Regions from separate parts of the Homo sapiens genome. Here regions 2, 3, 4 and 5 are each linked to region 1. The links are contacts of gene promoters, found by promoter capture Hi-C in blood cells and fetal thymus (Javierre and others, 2016). All regions are on one chromosome and are shown on one strand. The core of a region is centred on a gene start or on the middle of the fragment in contact, and the rest is flanking DNA. Distances in the headings are between cores, read along the strand shown. Region 1 holds the start of SLC60A2-DT (SLC60A2 divergent transcript). Region 2 overlaps RPF2 (ribosome production factor 2 homolog). Region 3 has its middle 16 kb from the start of REV3L. Region 4 has its middle 43 kb from the start of SLC16A10. Region 5 overlaps REV3L (REV3 like, DNA directed polymerase zeta catalytic subunit).

Evidence for each region. The method cuts DNA at HindIII sites, captures the fragments that hold promoters and counts their contacts. A CHiCAGO score of 5 or more calls a contact.
Region 2: a contact is called between a fragment that was not itself captured here and the fragment with the promoter of SLC60A2-DT in region 1, in 3 of 17 cell types (M0 macrophages, M1 macrophages and M2 macrophages). The highest score is 7.6, in M0 macrophages.
Region 3: a fragment that was not itself captured here is called in contact with the fragment with the promoter of SLC60A2-DT in region 1 in 2 of 17 cell types (total B cells and naive B cells); the score reaches 6.2 in total B cells.
Region 4: a fragment that was not itself captured here is called in contact with the fragment with the promoter of SLC60A2-DT in region 1 in 2 of 17 cell types (megakaryocytes and M0 macrophages); the score reaches 5.6 in megakaryocytes.
Region 5: a fragment that was not itself captured here is called in contact with the fragment with the promoter of SLC60A2-DT in region 1 in 1 of 17 cell types (M2 macrophages); the score reaches 5.1 in M2 macrophages.

Annotation. Positions count from the first base shown.
Region 1 is chr6:111,257,154-111,262,385 of GRCh38, reverse strand. SLC60A2-DT (SLC60A2 divergent transcript) reads left to right here and starts at 3,174. Exons shown (of 3, transcript XR_001743807.2): 1 at 3,174-3,262. It overlaps SLC60A2 (solute carrier family 60 member 2), which reads right to left and starts at 3,047. Exons shown (of 4, transcript NM_153369.4): 1 at 2,659-3,047; 2 at 1-129. The coding sequence starts at 2,685. LOC124901378 (a long non-coding RNA gene) reads right to left here. Exons shown (of 2, transcript XR_007059708.1): 2 at 4,676-5,232. RefSeq lists enhancers at 2,938-3,017, 3,338-3,397. The HindIII fragment of the contact is 14,878 bases long and covers 2,478-5,232 here.
Region 2 is chr6:111,025,496-111,030,727 of GRCh38, reverse strand. RPF2 (ribosome production factor 2 homolog) reads right to left here. Exons shown (of 10, transcript NM_032194.3): 10 at 2,465-5,232. The coding sequence ends at 5,146. Among named protein-coding and RNA genes, the nearest start is that of RPF2, 46 kb to the right of the region's middle. The HindIII fragment of the contact is 3,229 bases long and covers 380-3,608 here.
Region 3 is chr6:111,496,278-111,501,509 of GRCh38, reverse strand. It overlaps TRAF3IP2-AS1. Among named protein-coding and RNA genes, the nearest start is that of REV3L, 16 kb to the right of the region's middle. The HindIII fragment of the contact is 231 bases long and covers 2,610-2,840 here.
Region 4 is chr6:111,041,856-111,047,087 of GRCh38, reverse strand. It overlaps the pseudogene GSTM2P1. Among named protein-coding and RNA genes, the nearest start is that of SLC16A10, 43 kb to the left of the region's middle. The HindIII fragment of the contact is 1,570 bases long and covers 1,322-2,891 here.
Region 5 is chr6:111,459,847-111,465,078 of GRCh38, reverse strand. All of the region lies in intron 1 of REV3L (REV3 like, DNA directed polymerase zeta catalytic subunit), which reads left to right. Among named protein-coding and RNA genes, the nearest start is that of REV3L, 21 kb to the left of the region's middle. The HindIII fragment of the contact is 1,940 bases long and covers 1,791-3,730 here.

The sequences.
Region 1 (5,232 bases), core at 1,925-4,424:
ACCAATCACAGAGCCACTCAAATATCCCAAGGCACGACCCACAAAAATGAAAGACAGACTACTGATATTTCGGTTCACGTTTGTTGCCAAATCTTGAAACGTGGGTCCCACTATAGCAACACTCAATCCCTAAAATTTAAAAAGACAAAAGTTTTTACTTATAATCATTAAAATAATGTCTAACTATGTGGTAGTTTCTTCCACTATAAAAAAAAAGGGGGGCGGAGGGTCTGGGATTTACAATGTAATGTAGGGAATTAGACTACTGTTTTTTTAGTTTTGACTAAAACTCTTATTTTTTTTTTGTTTTGACACCTCTCAGTTTTTAAAAAATTATTTTTTTGTTGCAATCCTGTTTCCTTTCTGAACAATACCTTTAAAAGACTATTCTGTATTAATAAAATGTAATATTAAAACTATTTTTGAAATGGTTTCGTACATTTTGAAATATATTACATGCACAAATAAGAATTTGGGTATTAAAAATTTAAATTGGCCGGGCACAGTAGCTCACGCCTGTAATCTCAGCACTTTGGGAGGCCGAAGCAGGCGGATCACGAGGTCAGGAGTTTGAGACCAGCGTGGCCAACACAGTGAAACCCCATCTCTACTAAAAATACAAAAATTAGCTGGGCATGGTGGTGGGCGCCTGTAGTCCCAGCTACTCGGGAGGCTGAGGCAGGAGAATCGCTTGAACACGGGATGCGGAGGTTGCAGTGAGCCGAGACTGCACCATTGCACTCCAGCCTGGGCGACAGAGCGAGACTCTGTCTCAGAAAGAATAAATTAATTAATTAAATTAAGTCAGGTGTGGTTGCTTACACCTGTAATCCCAGCAATCTGGAAGGGAGAGATGGTAGGACTGCTTGAGCTCAGGGTTTTGAGATCAACCTAGGCAACCCCATCTCTACAAAAATAAAAATGAAAAAAATCAGCCAGGCGTGGTGGCGCATGCCTGTAGTCCCAGTTACTAGGGAGGCTGAGATGGAAGGATCGCTTAAGCCCTGAGGTCGAGACTGTAGTGAGTTCTGACTGAGCCACTGGAAAACGTCAAAACCTTGATCAAAACATCAAAATATGATTCCTGTTTTTTATGTTGTTAAACAGCAATATTTCTGGATGCACATGGAGTCCTTCCCCTGAACTATACATATAAAACATACAGGAGATAAACAATTTAAATGTTTCTAAATCTACACTTTTCTTCCACGCCATCAGAATTAGTCAGTAAAGGTTGCTTAAAAAATATTACACGCCCAAGTACAGAATGACTTTAACAATAAAACTTTACTCAATGCAGTGTCAGCAAGAGGTAAGGATTACAATTGACTTTCAGAGGAAATTCATTGGACATTTAAAGAAAAAAATGTTTCCAATCAGTCTACATTTCCAGAATAACTGATTCTAATTGCCCTGCTCTGCTCTAAATGCATGGGGTGCGCCCCCTGCCCAACTCGTAACAGTCCAAGACCACGGACCACTATGGGCCCAGGTGCACAGCAAGCACCTCGTACTTCGAGAGAAGCCTGAGCACAGAATCTAATCAAATTAGTTCATGTCTTCAAAGGATTTACAACAGGACCGGACAAGTCAGTGACGACTCACCAAAAGTCTGAAGTGATTTCTTTCTTCACCCCTCCCCACCGCCCCCAATCAAAATACTCTAAGAAACAACTGTGGCTCAGAGTCCCTGAGATGGTAAGTGACCACACATGACTCTTGGGAGGACTCATCCTCTCAACTCCCCCAGGATCATAATTATCAAGTGATAAGGAGGAGGTTTCCGAAAAGTGAATTGAGTGGCGACCCAGGGGTTTGGCAAAAGGCGCCTCTAGGCTTGCCCTTTGCTCCAAGAAAAACATTTAAGAATCTAAAGGTTGGTTTTATTAATAAATAGGATGGTGGGCAGAGTAAAAGACATATTTCTGGCTCTATCACTTAACCAGCTGTGTGATCCAGAAAGTCACTTTCCCCTCCGGGCCTATTTCCTTATCTGCAAAATTAAGCGGTTGGCTGAATTTGGTCAGATCACCAGGAAGAAATTCCAGAAAAGTAGTTTTTCTGTGTAATAATTTGGGGGTTGAGTGGGTGGGTGCGGAGAGCAGCGGCCAAAGACCTGGTGAACCCCTCTTGCAACCTTCCCATCCGACGAAGGAGACGTAGGAAGGCTTGCCGGGCCGGGCGCCGTGGCTCACGCCGGTAATCCCAATACTTTGGGAGGCCGAGGTGGGCGGATCACCTGAGGTCAGGAGTTTGAAACCAGCCTGGCCAACATGGCGAAGCCCCGTCTCTACTAAAAATACAAAAATTAGCCGGGCTTAGTGGCAGGCGCCTGTAATCCCAGCTACTCGGGAGGCTGACGCAGGAGAATCGCTTGAACCCTGGGGGCAGAGGTTGCAGTGAGCCGAGATCGCACCACTGCACTCCAGCCTGGGCAACAGAGCGAGACTCCGTCAAAAAAAAAAAAAAAAAAAGCTTGCTGGAGCTGAAAGACGTATTCAGAAAATCTATTTCCTCCAAGATTAGAATTGTGCCCATTTTCTAGATGATGAAACTGAGGCCCAGTCAGATTAGGTAACGCGCCCAAGGTCAGTTTGCAAGTGGCGAAGGCAAGACTCGAACGCCCCGGCCTGGGAGTGTTGCAGCCCCGGCTCTCACCAGCCCCAGGAAGGAGGCACACAGCATCAAGGTGGTGAACCACCGCAGCTTGCTCCCGGTCCCACCGCTCTGCCAGGAGACCACCACCACCTCCGGCTCCGGCTCATTCTCCGCCGGGGCCTCCGCCTGCAGGAGCCGCTGCCCCGCAGCCGGGGGCCCGGCCCCACGGAGCTCCACCTCTAACTCCAGCTCGGCGGCTCCGGAGAAGTCGTCTTGCTGCCGCCGCGCTTCTCAGCAGAACTTCTGGAGCTCCGAGAAGAGCACTGGCCCCGACCCCAGGCACGGGTGTCCCTCCGGGCGCCACCTCCCAGCGGACCGCCCGGAACCGGGGCAGAGAAGAGGAACTTCGGCACGCCGCAGGTGTTCGTGGCAAAAGACGCTCGCTCTCCAGCAAGCAGGCGCATGCGCGGGTCACGTGGCGGAAATGTGGCCTCTCGCCAACCGCTATCGTGCCTCAAGCCGGAAGTTGATATGGTTGCCTAGGAGACCGGACGTAGCTCTCTAGCCTAGGCATCATACTTAGCTGAGCTCACAGAGGCTGGCGGACGTGCGCCCCATGGCGGAGCGAGCTGAAGTTGCAGCCTGGGACCAGGGAAATCAAGAGGTAAAAATGCGGCCAAACCATTATGAGGAAAAGGGGCCAAGAATTACACTGTAGCGCCTCGCGCCGGCTCCCCGGTCTCCTGGGGAGCGAAGGGAGCCTGAAGAGCTGGTCCTTATACAGCTTTCTGAAATCCCTGAGATCTGTCAATGAATCGCGCATCTTTCACTCCACAAGTATTTGTTGAACGTCATTGTGTAAGTTATCACGTATATTATCTCAACCCTCACAACACTCCAAATTCCACGTTATCCCCGTTGTACAGATAGAAAGATTAAGTCATAGAAAATAATTAACAATCTGCCCAAGCTCAGTCATCGAATTAGTGGCCGTATATAAACAGTGTAACAGTAGCTCAAGAAAGAAATCGGGATCCAAAGCTGTGGTTTCAAACACAATTCCTGAAATAATTCCAATTCCTGAAATAATTCCATCGTTGTAAAGAAGTGGAGCGTGGCATCGATTTGAGGAATTTTTTTTATATACTTTAAGTTTTAGGGTACATGTGCACAACGTGCAGGTTAGTTACATATGTATACATGTGCCATGTTGGTGTGCTGCACCCATTAACTCGTCATTTAACATTAGGTATATCTCCTAATGCTATCCCTCCCCCCTGATTTGAGGAATTGTTTTCCTTTTGCTCTTTAACAAAGCGTACCACAGCCTCAAAATGTTATATACTTTTCTTTGTGGTCTATTTGAAATGTTCTTTTCCACCTGATTCTTCCAACTTTCATCCACTTAGGCTCCCAGACTACAAACCTTAGTCTCATCATCCCTTGCAACCCGTCTCTCCAGACTTATTCGTTTAGTCATTAAGTCTTCCCCCCACCCGCACCCCCACTTTTTTTTTTGTTTGTTTGTTTTCTTTTTTGAGACAGAGCCTATGTCGCCCGGGCTGGAGTGTTGTGGCGCTTTTTGGTAGAGACGAGTTTTCACCATGTCGGCCAGGCTGGTCTCGAACTCCTGACCTCAAGTGATTCGCCTGCCTTTGGCCTTCCAAAGTGCTGAGATTACAGGTATGAGCCACCATGCCCCGCCAAGCATTTCTTTTTTATTTATTTATTTATTTATTTATTTATTTATTTATTTATTTATTTGAGACGGAATCTCGCTCTGTCGCCCAGGCTGGAGTGCAATGGTGCGATCTCGGCTCACTGCAACCTCTGCCTCCTAGGTTCAAGCGATTCTCCTGCGTCAGCCTCCTGAGTAGCCGGGATTACAGGCGCGTGCCACCACGCACGGCTAATTTTTTTATTTAGTAGAGACGGGGTTTCACCATGTTGGTCAGGCTGGTCTCGAACTCCTGACCTCATGATCCGACCGCCTCGGCCTCCCAAAGTGCTGGGATTACAGGCGTGGGCCACCGCGCCCGGCCCGCCAAGCATTTATTTTAGAGCAGGTCAGCTGGCATTCCTTCATATGAGAATGTCTTTATTTCACTTTGATTCCTGAAAATATTTTCACTGAAAATAGAGTTCTGGGCTAACCGTTATTTCCTTTCAGCACAGAAAGATGAGATTTCTATTCGAGTTTTAGCTACCCATGCCACCCAACAGTTCCCAGCTGGGGTCTCTCCTCAGGACAAACCACAAGAAAAGAAGAAAAAAGCCAGGAAATTCATCCCCTTGCAGGTTTCTAAGTTTTGACTCCCTACCTCAATTCTTTATTTACTTTTCAGAGGCGGCAGGTAGTTGCCATTTGTATTTTGTCATGAGTCTTTCAGTCGTAATCAGTGAGAGAGGGGCTGAAGTAGACTAATGACGCCAAACCAGGACTTTTCTACCTATCTTTGGAGAATCCATGTTAAAACAAACAAACAAACAAACAAACAAACAAAACCTACTTTGGTAGGTAGTCTTTTCTCACCTGCCTTTCAGCCTTGAGGCTGGTTTAGTTTCACAACTATATAGTTGTGCTGCTCCTAAATCTTGTCACAGGTTTTACCTCGTGTTACAGTTCTTTTAGCA
Region 2 (5,232 bases), core at 745-3,244, 230 kb after region 1:
CAAGATTCTGTCTAACCTTTCCCCAAGGTCACCCTTAATGGAGGAAGGTGCTGGGGGTAAAATTCAAAACATATTTGTGGCATTCACTAGCTTTGACTGGGGAGCCAGATGGATGAAATGGGGCCTCATGGGGACAGTAAAGAATTCTCACGCTCTCCCAGTGCCATAAACCGAGCGGCCTCCGAAAGGCTGAGCCGGAGGTGCTGTTGCAGGTGGTGTCATCTAAACTGATGTCTCTAATCAGTCAAGTCACTATGCTATTTGCTTTGTCAGATAAGTGACTCTGGGGAAATCAGGTAGGAGAGTGGGAAAATAAATTGCTCAAGCTGATAAATGTGAATCTTCAAAATCTATTTCAAATGCAGAAATTAAATAAGCTTGCCTTTCAGGAACCTCTTTCGTAACTCATCCACAGTGTGTGAGAGGGACAGAGGGAGTTACCAGAACACAAGTTCAACTTTAGCTTGGCTCTAACTCTGGTTGCAGGTTCCCCCTCCTACTCGGTGATCTAGTGTCCACAGATGGTGCCTGTGCAGCCCTGGGTTCCAGCTGGGTGAGAGGGCAACGCCTCACGGAGCCAACATCTGCCACTCTGTGTCTGTCTGAGCCCTCAGAAGCCTGGTTTTCAGTTTGAGGAATCAATCCCAATCCAGTAAAGCACTTACAGCTCTGGGGCTTTGATCTTTGCTTGGCAAATGCCCTAACTGCTGAGTTCTACATACTTTGCCATTTCTCCCTTATCTGCCTTCTTTCATACAAGCCCCAGCTTGTATGAAACTAGAGCCAGAGTTTTCTCCCTGTTTGGAACCCACTTTCTGATTCCTTGAACATGTGTGAGAGGAATGGGGGTAGGGGTGAGATGGGTTGGGGAAGGAAGGACAGAAGTTTATTTTATTATTTTATTTTATTTTTGAGACGGAGTCTCGCTCTGTCGCCCAGGGTGGAGTGCAGTGGCGCGATCTCTGCCTCCCGGGTTCACGCCATTCTCCAGTCTCAGCCTCCCGAGTAGCTGGGACTACAGGCGCCCGCCACCATGCCCGGCTAATTTTTTCTATTTTTTAGTAGAGACGGGGTTTCACCGTGTTAGCCAGGATGGTCTCGATCTCCTGACCTCATGATCCGCCCGCCTCAGCCTCCCAAAGTGCTGGGATTACAGGCGTGAGCCACCGCGCCCGGCCGAGAAAGGACAGAAGTTTAATGGAAAAACAGGAACAGAATTAAAACGCATTTATGGGCTGGGCACTGTGGCTCACGCGTGTGATTTCAGTGCTCTGGAAAGCTGAGGCGGGAATATTGCATGAGGCCAGGAGTTCAAGACCAGCCTGGGCAACATAGTGAAACATCGTCTCTACAAAAAAAAAAAAACTAGCCCAGCTGTCGTGGCACCTGCCTGTGGTCCCAACTACTTGGGAGGCTGAAGCGAGAGGATGCCTTGAGCCCAGAGTCTGATGCTGGAGTGAGCTATGACTGCACCACTGCACCCCAGCCTGTGCAACAGAGTGACACCTGATTTCTAATACATAAAATGTATTTATGCTATATTTAAAAACTTTCTCAGCTGGGTGCGGTGGCACACGCCTGTAATCCCAGCACTTTGGGAGGCCGAGGCAGGCAGATCACTTGAGATCAGGACTTCAATACCAGCCTGGCCAACATGGCGAGACCCTGTCTCTACTAAAAATTAGCTGGGCGCAGTGCGCATGCCTGTAATCCCAGCTACTCGGGAGGCTGAGGCACGAGAATCGCTTAAACTCAGGAGGCGGCACTTGCAGTGAACTGAGATCGCATCACTGCATTCCAGCCTGGGCGACAGAGCAAGACTCTGTCTCCAAAAAAATAATAATAAAAACTTTTTTCCAGAGAGCTCTGAAATGGAAAAAGAGTGCAGAATAGCTTCAATTCAATGATGGCAAAGTTAAAATTCCTAACATGGTCTAACTGGCACACTCTGAATGATACGAGAAACACAATGACATCCTTGCTGTTTTTAAACTTGAGCAACTCGAGTTGTTGATATGAGAGACAAACAACATCTAAATGCAAGCTGACTTTCTTTTCACAGCTAGCATATACCTCAAGTAAGCAAGCCCATTTCATCTTCTTTTTCAGAATAGCTTCTTTCAATGAATATCAAACAGTATTCTCTACAATTTCATAATGTATATACGCTAGGATGCATTTGTCTTAAATGCAGTTATGTTTTGACTATTTCTAAGTAAAAGTGCATTAAAAACATAATGAAGCTCGTATTTTTTGCACTGTCTCTTAATTTTATGGTGGACAAAGCACCAATTTCTGAAATTCAATAAAAGCAAACCTTCCTTTGTTGTTCGGATCTTAGCAATGGGTTTAGTAGTTTTAACTTCTTCCATTTTGAAGCCTTCCATTTTTAGCCTTAAGTAGCTAGACATAAAAAGGAAAGGAAGGAGAGATCATGTAAGTAGCTAATCAGATAAATGAAAACTGACTTGAAGTTAAGTTTTATTAGCCCTTTCTTTTCTTGAATTGAGTAATAACATCTCTACTTTGGATTATGTTCAATAACCAAGAAAACAAACAGCACTTAATTTTAAAAAAACAAAAAAAAAGAAACCCAAATTCCATGAAATAATAGCTTGGTAATAGTATTAATATTCCAGAAAAAATATAAGAAATTTGGTATTTAAAACAAAACAAATAACCAAAATGCTTTCCTCATCTACCAAAACCCAACATTAAGTAAAACTTAAAACAGGCAATTTACCACCTCCATTGAAATGAATACATAGTCTCCAATTTATGTGTGTTGTATTCTAAAGTAAGGACAACTGAAAATCAAGATGTGCTCTCCACAAAAAGTGATATAAATGGCAGCTCAAGAGTTCCAGATAGTACAACACTACAAGGTGTTCTCAACAAAAAGTCTTTGTTAGACTTCAATAATACTATTTGGTACTTCTATCAGCAAATAGGAAGCATTCCAATACTTATTAGATCCTCTACCATCAGACACAGAAATTACCTAGAAAACAGAAATGTATTGCCAAATCTCAAACAAGAGGGCTGATTAAAACAAACAAAAACACCCTTAAGACGTCTCACATACAGAAATCATGGCCATCTTTGGGTTAAGATTGGCTGATTTTCCAGTAGTGCTGGGGTAGGTCTTCCTGATAGAGGGGTCCAGGCATGGCAGGGTCCCGTAAGCGGCTGGTGAGGAGGACCCACTGCTTTGCCTCCTACCAGTGATGAGCGAGGCTTTGGGGAAGGACTATGCGTCCATCACTCCTGATGTTCTTTTCATGGCTCCCCTTCTCAGCTATTGTCCATCTACCTCCAGATGGCAGCAAACGACTTATCTGAGCCCCTTCTTCTCATTTAGATATAAAGTGCAAATGTCTGATTCAGGTACGAGACTGTATGGTCTTTGGTTAAACGTATAATCAAACAAAAAGTATAAATGATACCAGCTCCTTCATTTTTCTGGCAAGAGGAGAGTAACAGCTATCCGGAGAGGACTAGGGAAAGCTAAGGAATGGATTCAAAAGAGAAGGGAAAGGGTAGAAGGTAAAGCTGAGGCTCGAACTTTTGCTTAGTGCCAGCATTGTTGATCTGTAGCTGAGCAAGCTTACATAAAGGCATGTATACACAGGCACGGAGCTCTCTAACATGGAATTGAAGTGAAACCCTGTCTCTACAAAAAATCAGCCAGGCGTGGTGGTGGGTGCCTGTAATCCCAGCTACTCGGGAGGCTGAGGCAGAAGAATGCTTGAACCTGGGAGGTGGAGGTTGCAGTGAACTGAAATCGCGCCACTGCACTCCAGCCTGAGCGACAGAGCGAGACTCTGTCTCAAAAAACAACAAAAAAGAAAGCACTGGTACTTCATGTAACAAATTATGATTTGCGTATGTCTGTACCTTTACAACATTACTGGCACTTGTATAAAGGAGATTCCTTGTCAAGGACTGAATCAAGGAACTTAACACCCTATTCCAGAAAAACAAGTATGCAATACTAGTAGAAGGAAGAAGAAAGCTTCTGTTTTCCTAGGCACAAGGCCTGTCTTCAAGAAACTTTCAAAACAAGTAGTTAGGCTTTGGCTGGCTTCTACACCATCTGCAAACGCCCAGGGCCTTCATGCAACCTTTAGCTACCTAGGGCTACCCAGTACCCTAAAGTGCCCTGCACCTTAAAACTCACCTGTTTTCTCCTTTTTCATTTCTGCCCCTATCAAAACTTCTTTTCTGCCAGGTGCAGTGGACCAACATCTGTAGTTCCGGCTGCTCAGGAAGGTGAAGTGGGAGGATCACTTGAGCCCAGGAATTTGAGTCCAGCCTGGGCAACACAGCAAGACCTCATTGCTTTAAAAAAAAAAAGTAGGGCTCAGTGGCTCATGCCTGTAATCCCAGCTACGTAAGAGGCTCAGGCAGGAGGATTACTTGAGCCCAGGAGTTCAGGGCTGCAGTGAGCTGTGATTGTGCCACTGCACTCCACCCTAGGTGACAGAACAAGACCCCATCTCTTAAAAACAAACCAACCAAAAAACACAGGTTTCGTCTCAGAGAAGCGGGGTGGGCTCTACTTAGTAGTAGAGTCTCTTAAAACAATCAACAGTAGTGTAATTTATCAATAATCAGATAGCAGACATCCCTCTCAGAGATCTATATATTTTCAGCCACAAAGCTTAAAATCTCAAATGTCAACGAGTAGGATTTCAGGCAAAATAAAAGTAGAAAATAAAAATCAGAATGTAGATCCATGTTGGGAGAGGAGGTTAACTTTCCAGGTAATTCATACTGAGATTGTTTACACAGCTCCTGCGGGTCCGGCTTTCTGTGGCTTTCTTTAGCTAAGGCCAGAAATTCAAAAAAATCCCAATGGTTATGGAGATCCCTCCTCACCCATCCATCCACCCAATGAGAAAGAAGAATTTGTGGAGGGCAGGGGATATCACAAGAGAAAATGGCACACCAGGGTGTAATGTCTCAAATAAAAGGCTTACTTTACACTTAATACTAGTATATTACTGTTCATAATAATATATCGTAAAATTATCATGTTATAAAAATATATAATAAGATCTTATAAGAAACTCTGAATGGATTGACGCTTGATAATTCTCTTAAGTAGAACACAATGAAACAGTAGTGGCTGGCTAAGTTCCATCAATTTTTTTTAATTCTTTTTGACTTTTTCTCGTGGTCTTCTGTTATCCTTTCTGCAGGTCGCTTCTTCAACCCCTTCATTTTCCT
Region 3 (5,232 bases), core at 1,476-3,975, 240 kb before region 1:
ACCTGGCTAATTTTAAATTTTTTTTGGAGAGACAGGGTCTCCCTATGTTGCCCAGACTGGTCTCAAACTCCTGGGCCCTCCCATCTCGGCCTCTCAAAGTGTTGGGATTATAAGCAAGAGTCACCACTCCTGGCCTCCTACTGTGGTATTAAGCGTCCCAATTCTTCATCCCTCTATGAATCCATGCCCTTTGCCATGTCACTTTGCAAGTTCTCTAAAGAGGAGAATTCTGTTTCTCTGCTCCTTGAATACGGGCTTGGCCACATAAATTGCTTTGGTCACTAGAATGAGGGAGAAGTGCTAGTGTCAGTTTGGAGTCCATGTGTTTGTGTTTGCCGCCACCCCCAATTTTTTTTTCTTTTTTTGGGAGAGTCTCACTCTGTCGCCCAGGCTGGAGTGCAGTGGCGCAAACAGGTTCAGGTGATTCTCCTGCCTCAGCCTCCCGAGCAGCTGGGACTACAGGCATGTGCCACCACACCCGGCTACGTTTTGTATTTTTAGTAGAGACGGGGTTTTACCATTTTGGCCAGGCTGGTCTCGAACTCCTGACCTCAGGTGATCCGCCCGCCTCGGCCTCCTAAAGTGCTGGGATTATAGGTGTGAGCCACCGCGCCCAGCCTCTGTTTGCCCTCTTCAACACTTCTTCCATCTTCATGAGAAAGATATGCCTAAGTGAGCTGGACAGTCACAGAAGGAGGATGATAGGTAAGTGTCCAGCCTAGAGCAAAGCTCCCAGTAGGTCTGCTGATGTATGAGCAAGCCCAGCTGGGAGGAGCCAACCCTCAGACATGTGAGCTATAATAATAATTATTGTCTTAAGCCACTTTAGAGTGTTTGTTATACAGCAAAACCTAAATGATGCATCTACCCTGAAAAACCTCATCCTGACCATATTATTCTAAGTCCCTTTGTTGTATTCCCAAACTGCTGCAAAAAGTATCCTTTAGTTTTTGCTTGTATTCCTTTGCATTTACTCTTATCTGTACCACTTCTCTTTTAACTGACACCAAAATTCTCCTAATGGTCAGTCTTACAGCTTTGGCATGATCCTCATCCATGCTGGCCTCTGTACAGCACCTGACACTATAGGTCATTTCATACCACTGTTAAATTTCTCCCGCTTTTATTGTACTCCACTAGTTTTTATTTCTTTGATTGTTCCATTTACTTCAAGGGCTCATCTTCTCTCTTCCACTCTTCTAGGGAGTTTATTCATTCTCTCAAGAGTGACTGTTATGTATCTGACTTACACATCTTTATTTCTACTCCTAATCTCTATTTCAAGCTCTAGTTCAGTTGGTCCTCAAACTGCAGTGTGCATCAGAATCACTTGGACGGCTTGTTAATATTCAGATTGCTGGGGCCTCACTCCCAGTTTCCTATTCAGTAAGTCTGGGATGGGACCTGTTAATTTTCATTTTTAGTAAGTTCCCAGGTGATGCTGATGCTGCATCAGTGACCACACCTTGAGAACCACACTTCTAGTTCCATATTTCCAACTCCCTAACAGTTTTCTCCTAGTTATCCATAAGTGCTTCAAATATCACATACAATGTCAATTAGGGTAGTTTTTGTTTTGTTTTGTGTTGTTTTTAATACTGTAACCACTAGTAACTAACAGTCTAACTAATGCAAAAGAAAGATTTATCAGGAAGCTCACTAAAGACTGCAGAACCATGTTCCAAATAAAAAGATAACCAGAAACTAGACTACTTGACAGTAGGAGCATTACCCCTAAGTCTGAAGTAAACTGAGTGTTTGTTGTTTTTGAATCCCTCAGTTCAAAAGTCAATTCCAAATGAGAGTCACCTATCTATCCCTTCGTTGTACCAAGGGAGAGACAGAAAGGATTATGGTGGAAGTAGCCACCAAGGACTCCTTTTCTTTCACATTGTCTTAGTTCAGGCCCTCTTAATTAAGCAGGTAGATTACTACGACAGCCTCTTAACTAGTTTTCTTGCCCCTAACATAACCTCCAATTCATTCTCCACATCATCTTCAGTTATCTCTTTAAGACACATGTCATTTTCTTCTTTGCCTTATCTGGTGCAGTATTCATGTCTTATCTTGTTTTAAGTAATAAATTGCTTTTCTCCATATACAAGTGGTTGCAATATTTTTGCCTTAGCTGACACAAAAAATGGAAAAGCAGTTTGAGAGGGTAGGAAACACAGCCCATTGTAAACTGAGGATCTAATCACCTAGTAATCAGGCAAGAGTCAGAAGCAGAGTACCAAATTTTGGATAGAGACCCCTCAAGGAGGCTTTAAGATATCAAGTCTCTCACTAGACTGAAAACTCCCTCATGGCAAGGATCTAGTTCTCACTCTTTCCCCAGCACCTAGCTCAGCACCTCACAAATAACAAGATTTAATGACATGAAGAAAGTCATCTCCAGACCCTCCCCTACTTTAAATTACTAGCTTACAGTCTCTGCCTGCATATCACCTCACCACCAAATCCTTCCTACATACCACTGCTAAATCAAGCCAATTATCATTTCATTTCCTGCTCAAAACCTTCTGACTGTCCAATACATGCTCGCCAACTCTAAACTCTTCACCATTCAAAGCCTTCCAGAACTTGGTTCTAACCAATTTTTCTAAGCTTTCTTCCACTCCTCATTACACTGTCAGTCTGGATAAATAAGGTTTAACATAACATTTTTCCTGTTCTTGTTGGTTCCAGTTTTTGTAGTATCTGTCTTCCATGATGTCTCCCCTATCTTACCGTCAAAATCTAGTTAAGATGCCACCTGTCAGTGACCTACCACTCTAGGTTATTGGTAACGTATCCTCGTACCCTATGCTCCTTAATTACTTAAGGATCTATTTGAAGCTTTTGTTAATTACTGTCCTGTTCGTATATATAACTTCTAGTAGTTGAACACATACTATCTTAAATTATAATTATGTAGTTGTATTATTTGTCCTACCAGATTTTAAGAGACTTAAGAGCTTTCTGCCACTAATCTTCTATATCCCCAGAAACTTCTGTAGTGCCTTATACATAGTGGGCAATAAGTAAAATCTGTTAAAAAGATGAATAAATGGATGTTTATAATACAGCACTAGTGTTTGGGGCTGGTCCCTTGAGGTAGCCAGCCTGTGACTGTGCCAGGGATTTCTGAGCTGCTGAAATCAGAGGGTAATAAATCCTGGCAGCTTGGAACTGGATGGTGAGTCTAAATCAAAGATCATCAGGTTGAATGGAGATTCAAATGCCAGGAACAAGCATCAAGTGAAAAGGTCCAAAAGACAGAACCTGAGATGAAATGTAGAGCAAAGGGTATGGAATCAGGCAGAGACACAGTAAAGGCAACAGTCGTCATAACATATTGATGAGGATCTGAATGGTGGACTTTGGAGCGGGGGCCATGCAGTGCACTCATCAAGGTGAGTGGTTTGTTGGTAAAATAATCACCTAAAAATTGGAAGTTAGGTTGGCATCCAATTATCATCTCTAGCAAAGAAACACATATATGAAAATAAAAAATTTATAATAGCAAATATAGAGAAATTAAATAGAACCTGCTTTGAGAGGTGGATTTCATTTGAGCTTCATTTTGTTGCTTCTGCCCTGTCACCTTAATTTGTTTCACACATTTGCACAAGTTCACATACAAGTTGTATTTTTTGATTCCTTTATATTATGGAAAAAGAAAAACACATTTTAAAAGAGATAACATCACAGCACCCAACATCAATACAAAAACTCAGAACTTATTTTTACTGTATTTTTTAGATTTTTAATCTTTCAGCGAAGCTGCAATAACAGTGTACATAATAACCACTGATTTTTCTACATGAACTGTTCACAGACTAGAAAATTCTGAGATTTTATAAAAGTTTAAAAATCCTTAAAAATGTTTAAAAAACCCTAATTATGAGAAGTACATATTCTGTTATCAAAAATCCTAAAAAGTTTAATTCCAACAGCTACCTTGCCCTATAAAACATTTGTTTGCCTGTCAATCTGTGAGGTTGGATCGAGCAACTCTGTCCCACACAGCGTTTTCTTGTACTCATTAGTAGTAAGCATTGTGGCAAAGACTAATGTCCTCATGAAAAAGACAGCAAAATTCACTTTAAGTTCTTCTGTACAGGTGCAATAGTCCTCTGAATAAATTGTAAAAATTAAAAAAAAATTTTTTTTTGACACGATCTCACTCTGTTTCCCAGGCTGGAGTGCAGCGGTGTGATCATGGCTCACTGCAGCCTTGATCTCCTGGGCTCAAGCAATCCTTCCACCTCAGCCTCCCCAGTAGCTGGGACCACAGGTGCACACCACCACACCTGGCTAGTTTTTTTATTATTATTTATGGAGATAGAGTCTCACTATGTTGTCCAGGCTGGTCTCAAACTCCTGGCTTCAAGGGATTCTCCCACCTCAGCCTCCCAAAGTGCTGAGATTACAGATGTAAGCCACCATACCTGGCCGGAATTTTGTTATTTTGATTTAAATGCTGAATGAAGTAAGTTTTAAAGCCTATATTATTCTTCCTGATATAACTGACAGAAGGATAAGTTCTCATATTAGGTTCTTTAAAAGTTAATATATTTGGTGGCAACACAGAAGAATAGGAAGATCGCTTACCAAGGAGGTAGGTAACCTGGATCTCACTTACTCTATGGGGTCTTAGGCAAGTCATTTACTTTCTCTGAGTCTCAATTTCTTCATTATAAAATCTAAAGACTTGGATTATTTCAATGGTCTTGACAGGAAGACTGCACTGGAATTGCCTGTGGGCATTCTGACTTGGTAGATATGAGAAGAAAGGGCCTAGATAAATGTATCTTTACAACGTCTCATAAATGATTCTGATGCATATTACTGGTTAAGAACCAATGGTATAAATAATTTCTTGGGTTATTTGAAATTCTAAGAATCTACTTTTTACATCCAATCAACGGAATTTTTAAAACTCCTACCTTTCACTATTACATCATTCTTCTTGATGAATAAGTATATTTTAGGAAATGGAGAAGCTGCCTCTAAATTGTGAATAGCTTACTGTTATTGAGTGCTTAGCAGTCTAAGGTGTTAACTCATTTAATATATGTAATTCAATCTTCACAACAACACTAAGAGGTAGGTACTACTATTATTATCTGTTTATTACAGACAGGAAAAATGAGGCACAGAAAGTAATTTGCCCAAGTTATGGAGCAGGTAAGTAGGGAAATTGGGCTGCAGAGTTTAAACACCAGAATGCTCTACTATTATTCAATA
Region 4 (5,232 bases), core at 857-3,356, 210 kb after region 1:
GCTATTGTTTCTTGGGGACAAGATCACACTTGTGGATTTCATCGCGTATGGCATCCTTGAGAGAAACCAAGTATTTGAGCCCAAGTGGTTGGACGCCTTCCCAAACCTGAAGGACTTCATCTCCCGATTTGAGGGCTTGGAGATCTCTGCCTACATGAAATCCAGCTGCTTCCTCCTGAGACCTGTGTTCACAAAGATGGCTGTCTGGGGCAACAAGTAGTGCCTTGAAGGCCAGGAGGTGGGATTGAGTTGCCCATACTCAGCCTGTTGCCCAGGCTGTGGAGAGCAGCTGGACTCTACACCCCAGCACCTGCCTTCTTGTTCCTTTCTCCTGTTTATTCCCTTCTTTACCCCCAAGACTTTATTGGCCTTCTTCACTTCCCCTAAACCCGTGTCCCATCCAAGCCCTTTAAAGCCTCAGCTACCCATTTTCCTTCATGAACGTCTCCCTCCCAACATTACCCTTCCCTGCACTAAAGCCAGCCTGACCTTCCTTCCTGTTAGTGGTTGTGTCTGCTTTGAGGGGCCTAACGGGCCCCTTGCCTGTGGAGCTCAGCCCTGAGGTCCCAGGGCTGCATGAAAGAGCAGTACTGACTGGTTTACAGGCCCTTCTCCTGCAGCATGGCCCCTGCCTTAAGCCTACCTGATCCAAGTAAAGCCTAAAACACACACACACACACACACACACACACACACACACAGAATAAACGTCAAAATCCACAGGATCATTTCAATAGATGCAGAAAAAGCATTTGACAAAATTTAACACCCTTTCATGATGAAAAAAAAACACTCAACAAAGTAGGAATAGATGAGAATTTCTTCAACCTAATATAGGGCTTCTACAAAAAACCCACAGGTAACAGCATATTTAATGGTAAAATAACTGATTCTTTTTCAGATGAAGCATCAAGACAAAATGAAGAACAGGACAAAGATGTCCGCTCTCCCGGTTTCTATTCAACATTGTGAAGGAGGTTCTAGCCAAGGCAATTAGGCAAGAATAAGAAATAAAAGGCACCCAGCTTGGAAAGGAAGAAATAAAAGGCACCCAGCTTGGAAAGGAAGAAATAAAAGTATCCTATTAGTTGATGATGTGATTTTGCATATAGAAAATTCTAATGAATCCACTAAGAAACTATTTGAACTAATAAACAAGTTCAGCAAGGTTTCAGAATACAAGATCAATATACAAAGAGAAACTGTATTTCTTTATAGCAGCAATAAGCAAACAGAAAATGAAATAAAGAAAATTCTGTTTACAATAGCATCAAAAAGAAAAAATGCACAGGAATAACTTTAACAAAAGAGGTACAAAGCTTGTATGCTGAAACCTACAAAACATCATTGAAAGAAATTGAAGATTTTAATAAACGGAAAGATATCCTATGTTCACAGATCAGAACACGTAACATTGTTAAGATGGAAAAACTCTTCAAATTGAACTAAGATTCTACACAATCCCTAACAAAAATCTTGGCTGATTTCTTGGCAAAAATTGGCAAGCTAATCCTAAAACTCATGGAAATTTAAGAAACTCAGAATGGTCAAAACAGTTTTTAAAAAGAACAAAGCTGTAGAATTTACATTTCCCAATTCTAAAACTCACTACAAACCTATAGTAATCAAGACAGAGTGGTACTGGCATAAGGACAGACATATCAATCAACAGAACAGAATTGAAAGTCCAGAAATAAAGCCTCACATTTACTGTCAATCGATTTTTGACAAGAGCACACAACCATTCAATGAGGAAAGAATAGTCTTTTCAAAAAATGGTGCCAAGACATTGGATATCCATATGCAAGGGATGAAGATGGACCCTCTAACTCACACCAGATACAAAAATGAATTCAAAATGGATCAGATACTTAAATCTAAGAGCTAAAACTCTAAAACTCTTCAAAGAAAAGACAGGAGTAAGTCTTTATGACCTTGGACTAGGCAATAGTTTCTTAGATATGACACCAAAAGCACAAGCAAAAAAAAGAAAAAAATGTGTAAATTAGACTTTATTAAAACAAAACTTTAGTCCTTCAAAGTACATCATCAAGAGAGTGAAAAAATTCCAATGCTCAACACCATTAATCATCTGATACATGCAAATCAAAACCACAATGAGATACCACTTTACATCCATTAAGATAACTGTAATAAAAATGGAAAATATACATAAGTGGACTTGTGTTATATGGGGAAAAAATGGAAAATAGCAAGCATTGGTGATGATGTGGAGAAATTAGAACACTCGGCCAGGCATGGTGGCTCATGCCTATAATCCCAGCACTTTGGGAGGCCAAGGCCTGAGAATTGCTAGAACCCGGGAGGCGGAGGTTGCGGTGAACCAAGATCATGCCACTGTACTCCAGCCTGGGCGACAGAACAAGACTCCATCTCAAAAAAAAAAATAAATAAATAAATAAATAAATAAAAAATAAAAAGAAAAGAAATTTGTAATTAAAGATGTGCTTTGTTGAGTTGGTATGCCACAAAGTTATATAGTCCTAAAAATATGCCTGTACTCTTCTTACCTGGCGACTCCAGAACTGAGGGAGATCATGGAAGGATGAAAGCAATAGGTTTCTCATGGCAGTGAATATGATTTTCTTCTTCAATTTTCCTTCTCCTTCTTGTTAAATAAAATTCCCCTGGTTGCAACTTCCTAATGAGAGGATTGATGACAATTGAGTTCTTTTGGAAGATCCATCTTTAGGCAGATTTTGGTTGTATCACTGAAGCTGTGACTGGGATGTCATATATGAGAAGATATATAGAATGAATCTATAGGTACTGCAGGCTAAGTCTAAAGTATGCCTTGATTTGGCTTCCTAGCCTAAAGAAGTTTTAAAATGTCCATTCTTAGAGTTCTTATCAAAAGTTCCAGCAAAGCTTTGCAGCAGTTAATGTTATAGAAAAAGAGAAAAAAAGTTCCAGCAGTCTGGGTGCAGTGGCTCACGCCTGTAATCCCAGCACTTTGGGAGGCCAAGGCAGGAGGATCACCTGAGGTCAGGGGTTCAAGACCAGTCTGACCAACATGAACAAACCCCGTTTCTACAAAAAATACAAAATCAGCTGGGTGTGGTGGCGCATGCCTGTAATCCCAGCTACTCGGGAGACTGAGGCAGAAGAATTGCTTGAACCTGGGAGGCGGAGGTTGCAGTGAGCTGAGATTGCACCATTGCACTCCAGCCTGGGCAACAAGAGCGAAATTCTGTCTCAAAAGAAAAAAAAAAGTTCCAGCAAAGGAAACTTAAAAACAGTCTGTGTGGTCATTCACTATTCCTGCTGCTCTTACGTAAATAATCAGGCTAAGTTTGATGAGACTAACCTTATTTTGTAAACACATTTGTGTTATTCTGATTATTTTTGGTAGAAATGGGAGTAACTGCAGAGAGAAAAACTGTTTCTGAAGAAAAGCTATAGTACACCTGCTATTAGGTTGTGGCTTTGCTCATCGTTTTCAAGTTTTTCTTATCTTCTTGTAGACTGGACTAGATTCTAGAATTCTCTTTTCCTCCAATATCTGGCTACAATTCTCCAACTAAGAACAAGAACTGCTCTGTACCCAAAGCCCTCTAAGCTGAAACCAGACAACTCGTTGTAAATTTCAAGGGACAAGTGCCATTCCTGATGTGTTGGCCACACAGAGTTCACCAAAACGCCTGATGCCATAACCAGAGACATTCAAACTGCAAACCAGGGAAAGAGGTTGACAACTTCATGTTGTAAACAGCTTTTCCCAAGGTGTCAGCACAAGACTGCCTATCATAATAAGACTCTTGCCCCTCTGAACTTTTTTTTTTTTTTTTTTTTTTTTTGCCCATCTTTTTCGCTTGGCACAGTCAGCAGCTCCTGCGGGGGCAATCTGATGAACTGTTGGATCTGTCGTGTGAAACCCAAATCTTTACATAACCTAAGAGCTTCTTTAGTCCATCTAGTGGGTAAGTTTAGCAACATCCCTAACGTAACTGTTGTTCAAATTGTACTAGTGGTCCCTTTAATAGGGTTACACTTCTAGATCCACTTGTTCTCACTCTCTGCTTTAATATAACCCAGTCATAGGATACCAGATTTCCTGCTAGCTGTATAGTATAGGAGGAGTCTGTGCCATTGATAACACTTCTTGTTGTACATGGGTAGATACGTTGGGTATTACAGAGACTTGGTTGCAAAAAATGAACAGTCTGCTTGGTTAAAACAAGTGGACTCCTCATCTGGCTCATTCTTTGATCTATTCAATTTTAGTTGGTTTGGTTCATGGGGACCCTGGCTAAGGAGCTTATGCCAAACTGCTGGTATTATCCTCCTGATAGTCATAATAGTAGTCTTGCTGGTGTGCTATATTCTCTCAAAGGTTTTAAATACTTACATGTAGCCATCCATCGAACATTGAATGATCTCTCTTCAGCTAGAATAACAAAAACTCAAAGAAATATGTGATCAGACCAGACTTGATGGCTCACGCCTATAATCCCAGCACTTTGGGAGGCCAAGGCCAGCAGATCACGAGGTCAGGAGATCAAGACCATACTGGTTAACATGATGAAAATTTGTCTCTACTAAAATACAAAAAAAAATTAGCCGGGCATTGTAGCGGGCACCAGTAGTCCCAGCTACTCGGGAGGCTGAGGCAGGAGAGTGGCGTGAACCTGGGAGGTGGAGCTTGCAGTGAGCCCAGATCGCGCCACTGCACTCCAGCCTGGGCAACAGAGCGAGATTCTGTCTAAAAAAAAAAAAAAAAAAAGCAAAAGAAATATGTGATCCTGAGGACACCACAATCTAAGAATGGTACATCGAGACCAGAAACCCAGAATGATGGTAACTGAGAGCAGTGTGAATGGCCTAGGTTTTGGTCGCACTCTCACCTGGGTGACAGCCTGACCCAAATGGTGAAATTGTTTAAAAAAAAAAAAAGTATAGGAGGCCATTGGTTTGGACTGAGCTCCTGCTTTAGATCCAACAGATCAAACCAAAATGGAGTCAGTCATGCTAAAGTTTCACATCACCAAACTGAAACTAAGTTGTTTATCTAACATTCTGAGAAATCAGGCGAGAGATAATAGCTAAATCCCCAAACAAGCAATTTCAGCCAGTATGATAAAGAAATCCCCTCTCCTTTAGCCTTTACAAGGAAAGTATAACTTTGAAACAATCAATCGACTTTTTGTTTTCTGTTTTGGCTTTTCTCAGCCTTTTTCTGTCTATAAAACCAACCTCCTCTGATTAGAACAC
Region 5 (5,232 bases), core at 1,511-4,010, 200 kb before region 1:
AAATAACTTTATTTTACCCTTTCCTTTAGTGTGTGACTTTTGCAGCATAGACCGTTTTATGTGTTTTCCTTTTTTTTGAGATGGAGTCTTGCTCTGTCACCCAGGCTGGAGTGCAGTGGTGCGATCGTGGCTCACTGCAGCCTCCGTCTCCCAGGTTCAAGCAATTCTTCTGCCTCAGCCTCCCAAGTAGCTGGGACTATAGGCGCACGCTGCCATGTCCAGCTAGTTTTTTGTATTTTAGTAGAGATGGGGTTTCACCATGTTGCCCAGGCTGGTCTTGAACTCCTGAGCTCAGGAAGTCCACCTGTCTAGGCCTCCCAAAGTGCAAGGATTACAGGCGTGAGCAACCATGCCCGGCCCTGTTTTCCTTTTTGGAAAACATAGATAACAGAACTCATTTTTAAAAGTGTATGTACCAAAATGTAGTTTTTTAAATTGTTGTTTCTATTCATTTCTTTTTTCTTATCTCTTAAGAGTTCCATTTATATCTTAGACTGCATATAAGTCTGTCTTTTTATTTCTTCCTATATGTATGTTGTTGAGAACACACAGCATATACTTTTTACATTTTTTCTGTTTCTAAATATAAATTATCACAGATTCTTTTCTTTGGCATTTTTAAGAAGATGTTTTATCTATGCTGCTGAATGTTTGTTTAGGTCCCATTCCATACATACCTATCTATGAACAAGGGCTATTTTTCCAAGCCTAGTGTTTGCCAGTAGGTAGGGTATGGCAAGTTCACTTTAATCATATTTATTTTCTGCTTATAAAAAGATAGATTTGCCTTCCCTAGCATAAAGAACTAATGATCGTATACAACCCACTTAGATGAAAACATTCACTTAGTGTACCTCTACTGGATTGAGGTTTAAGGTTTTTTCCACTTTTCTCCTTGCACAGTTCGCTGGTATATGGGAACTAACATATTTATGGATAACCTGAAACAGTTTTTTTTTTTAAATTTTTGTTATTTATTTATTTATTTTACCAGAACATTGCATGCAAGCCTCCAGGTTGTAAAGGCCCTTAGGACTTTTAGTGATTTAATCAGTGATGGGAGCTAATTCATTTATTTAGATTTTGGATGCTTTTTAACATGCCAGGATGAAGACAGCTATGCTGCGTCAATTATGTTGATATTGGTTGTTTTTAGAGTAGATGAACAGAGGTATTACATGTCTTAGAAAATTTTTAGTAGGGGACTGGTTTCTGTTGGAGCAGACCGTGTCCCCAAGGTAGAGAAAAGAGTTACACAGTAAGTCCTTGCTTAATGTCCATGACAGGTTCTTGGAAATTGTGACTTTAAGTGAAATCACATATAATGAAACCGTTTTTTTCTCATTGTTATAATAAAATGAAGTTGAACAAAATGTCATTTGGAGATCTGCTACAAAGTTTTTCTTAAAGTTTAGGTTTCCAAGAACCTATCAACAAAGTTAAGTGAAAATTTACTGTATGTCTTAAATATTTTAGTGAAAAATTTAGAGAAGGATTATTCTGTATTTCATCAATTCTAAGAAGTATATTTTCCCTCCTTGTGCATCTCAGTAATTAGGATATGTCTTACAATCAGTAGTGCACCATATTTACTTAACAGCACTTTTCTTAGTACAAAAATTAATTATGTCATAATCACTAGCATCTTGGATTCAGTGAAATATATTAATAGTTGTTTAGCTTAGTGCCATTCTAAATTGAATCTCTTTATTTGTTGTAACATTAACCTTTCTTCTCTTCGGACAGTTTTGGCCTTGGCTTAACTTCCTAGCTTTGTTCACTTGGAAGCTTGATAAGGTAGAATATCAGTTGTATAACCGAGCACCATTGCTTATGGTAATAATGACTCATGATTACTGAATTGCATAAGGACCAGAGGAGGACTGTGAATGAATTGTAAATACTGGTACTTATACCGTTAACAGCTTTGGACTTCCCTGAGTGTGATAACTCTTGCAACTAAGCAAATCTGTTGCTGAAGCTCAGGAAGCTATGCCTATGAGACTGGAGATATTGGTTGCTATTTGGTACCTGTAAGCTAGAGTAGCTACTGCAAGGACCTTATGCTCTCATTCTCTTACACTTGATCTGCCACCTGAGAGGGCCAAAGATACTAGCCCCCGAATTGCAATGAGGACTCCTGCCTGACATGTTAAGTATAACCAGCCTGTTTGGGTTATGTGAGTCTCGGTGTCTAGTTAGGCCTAACGGGGTGTTGTACTTACATTCTGTGGCTTTATTTTGTTTTTAATATTTGCTGAGTGAATCTATATTTACTATTTATTCGTCATAAGAATTTTAAATTATAAATATGAGCACATCTCTACTAAGTAATGCCAAATTGTTTTCCAAAGTGATCATACCAATCTATACTCCCACCAGAAGTGTGAGTTTCTGATGTTCCACATCTTCACCAATATTTAGGATTGTCAGACTTAAGTTTTAAATTAGGAATTAATTTAAAACATCTCATTGTGGGTTTGTACATTTTTCATCACTAGTGAGAGATTGAGTTTTTCCATATGTTTATAGCCTACTCGTTCTATAAAATACTGAGAGATGTGTTGAAGTCTCCAACTTAATAGATTTGTCTATTTCTCTTTCCAGTTCTATCAGTTTTTTTTTCATGTATTTTGAAAGTTTGTTAGATCCATACATATTTAAGATCGGTGTGCCTTTCTGGCGGACAGCCTCTTTATCTCTGGTAATATTCCTTGTTCTGAAATCTTCTTTGCCTTGTATTAATATAACCACTTCAGCTTCCTTTTGATTAGTATTTACATGGTATATCATGTCAAAAACTGAAGTTTGCCATGAATTTCATACATATTAGCAATAGACATGAGATTTCCATCTCTCCATTGTATCACTTATTAATAAAGAGTAACTGGGGAGATGGTTGCAGACCAGATACTGAGAAGTAGGTTCAAAGGCAGCTACCTCAACAGAGACCCATGGAGAATTGTCTCCCAACATATTTTTTCTGTTTTTGTTTTTTGTTTTACTTTCACTTTCAACCTATCTGTATCTTTACACTTAATATGGGTTTCTTATAGTCAGCATATAGATGGGCTTACTTGTTTATCCAGTCTGATAATCTCTGTCTTTCATTTTGACATGTCTCTTTTATTTAGTGTGTTTAGATTGTTTATATTTATCAACATTGGTAATATGGTTGGATTAAAATCTACCACTATGGTATCTGGTTTATGTTAGTCTATCTGTTCTTTTTTTCTTTTGGATTACTTGGACTTTTTAAAAATTCCATTTCTCTCCGCGGTTTGCTTATTTATTTATACCTCTTTCTGAAATTTGTTTAGTGGTTGCCCTAGGGTTTGCCGTATATTTGTAATTAATCACAGTTTTCTTGATATAATAATACATAGCTTTATATGTAGTATTAGGACCTTATAGTTCTATACTCCCATTTCTCCTCTTCATCTTTTATGTTTTTGTTGTCATACACTTTACTTTTATATATATGCAATCAACATGCAATATATTACTACTCTAAGACTTTACAGTATATTGCTATAGATTTTATAGAACTGTTCATGTAGGTTATAATAAATTTATTTTTAAAAAGTCTTCAATAATTAGCCTTACCTTACTGTAACTTTTACTTTATTAACTTCTTAGTTTTTTAAACTTTTTTACTCTCTTACAATAACTTAGCTTAAAACAAATACATTGTACAGCTGTACAAAAGTATGTCCTCATTCTGTAAGCTTTTTTCTATTTAAAAATTTTTAATTTTTACTTTTAAAACTTTTGTTAAAAACTAAGACGCAAATACATTAGCCCTAGGCCCACAGAGAGTCAAGCTATAAATATCACTGTCTTCCACTTCCACATCTTGTCTGGAAGGTCTTCAGGGACAATTACACACATGGAACTGCCATCTCCTATGATAACAGTTCCTTCTTCTGTAATATCTCCTGAAGGACTTACCTGAGGCTGTTTTACAGTTAACTTTCCTTTTTATGTAAGTAGGAGTACATTCTAAAATAATGATAAAGTATATAATAAATACATAAGCTAGTAACTGTTACCATGATCAAGTATTATGTACTTAACATAATTGTATATGCTATACTTTTATACAACTGGCAGTGTAGGTTTCTTTACACCAGCTTCACCACAAACACGTGAGTAACTCATCGTACTACAATGTTAATACAACTAGGATGTCCCTAGGCGATAGGAATTTTTCAGCTTCATCGTAATCTTATGGGACCACCATTATATATGTGGTCCCTTGTCGATTAAATATCATTATGCAGTACATGACTGCATTTTTGCTTTAGAGACAGTTATCTTTTAGAACAATTGCAAATAAGAAAAATATGAAGTTTTGTATTTACTTTCATTTATACCGTTTATACTGTTGTTCATGTCTTTGTGTAGATCCAAGTTTTCTGTCTGGTATCATTCTGTCTACCTGAAGAACTTTTAACATTTCTTATAGGCCAAGTCTGCTAGTAATAAATTATCTTTGTTTCTCTCAAAAAGACTTTATTTTTCTAAAATATTCTTGCTGAATATAGAATTCTGGATTGCCTTTTTTTTCTTTCAGTACTTAAAAGATGTCACTCTACTGTTTGTTATATGGCTTTTACGTATATATTTTTATTTGAATTAAATTTTTTTTCTTTTTCCGCTTTTATTTTAGATTCCGGGTGTACCTGTGCAGGTTTATTACAAAGGTATATTGCATAATGCTGAGGTTTGAAGTACGACTGAACCCGTCACCTAGGAAGTGAGCATAGTACTCAATAGGTAGTTTTTCCATCCTTGCCTCCCTCTCCCATCTTGTATTCTCCAGTGTCTGTTTGTTCCCATCTTAATGTCCATATGTACTCATGGTTTGGCTGCCACTTGTAAGTGAGAACATGGGGTATTTGGTTTTCTGTTTCTCCATTAGTTTGCTTAGGATAATGGCCCCCAACTGCATCCGTGTTGTTGCAAAGGACATGATTTTGTTCTTTCTGTGGCTGTGTAGTGTTCCATGGTGTATATGTACCACATTTTCTTTATCTCATTTACTGTTGATGGACACCTGTGTTGATTCCATGTCTTTGCTGTTGTGAATAGTGCTGTGATGAACACATGGGTGCATGTGTCTTTTTGGTAGAATGATATATTTTTCTTTGGGTATATACCCAGTAATGGGATTGCTAGGTTAAATGGTAGTTCCATTTTGTGTTCTTTTAGAAATCTCCAAGCTGCTCT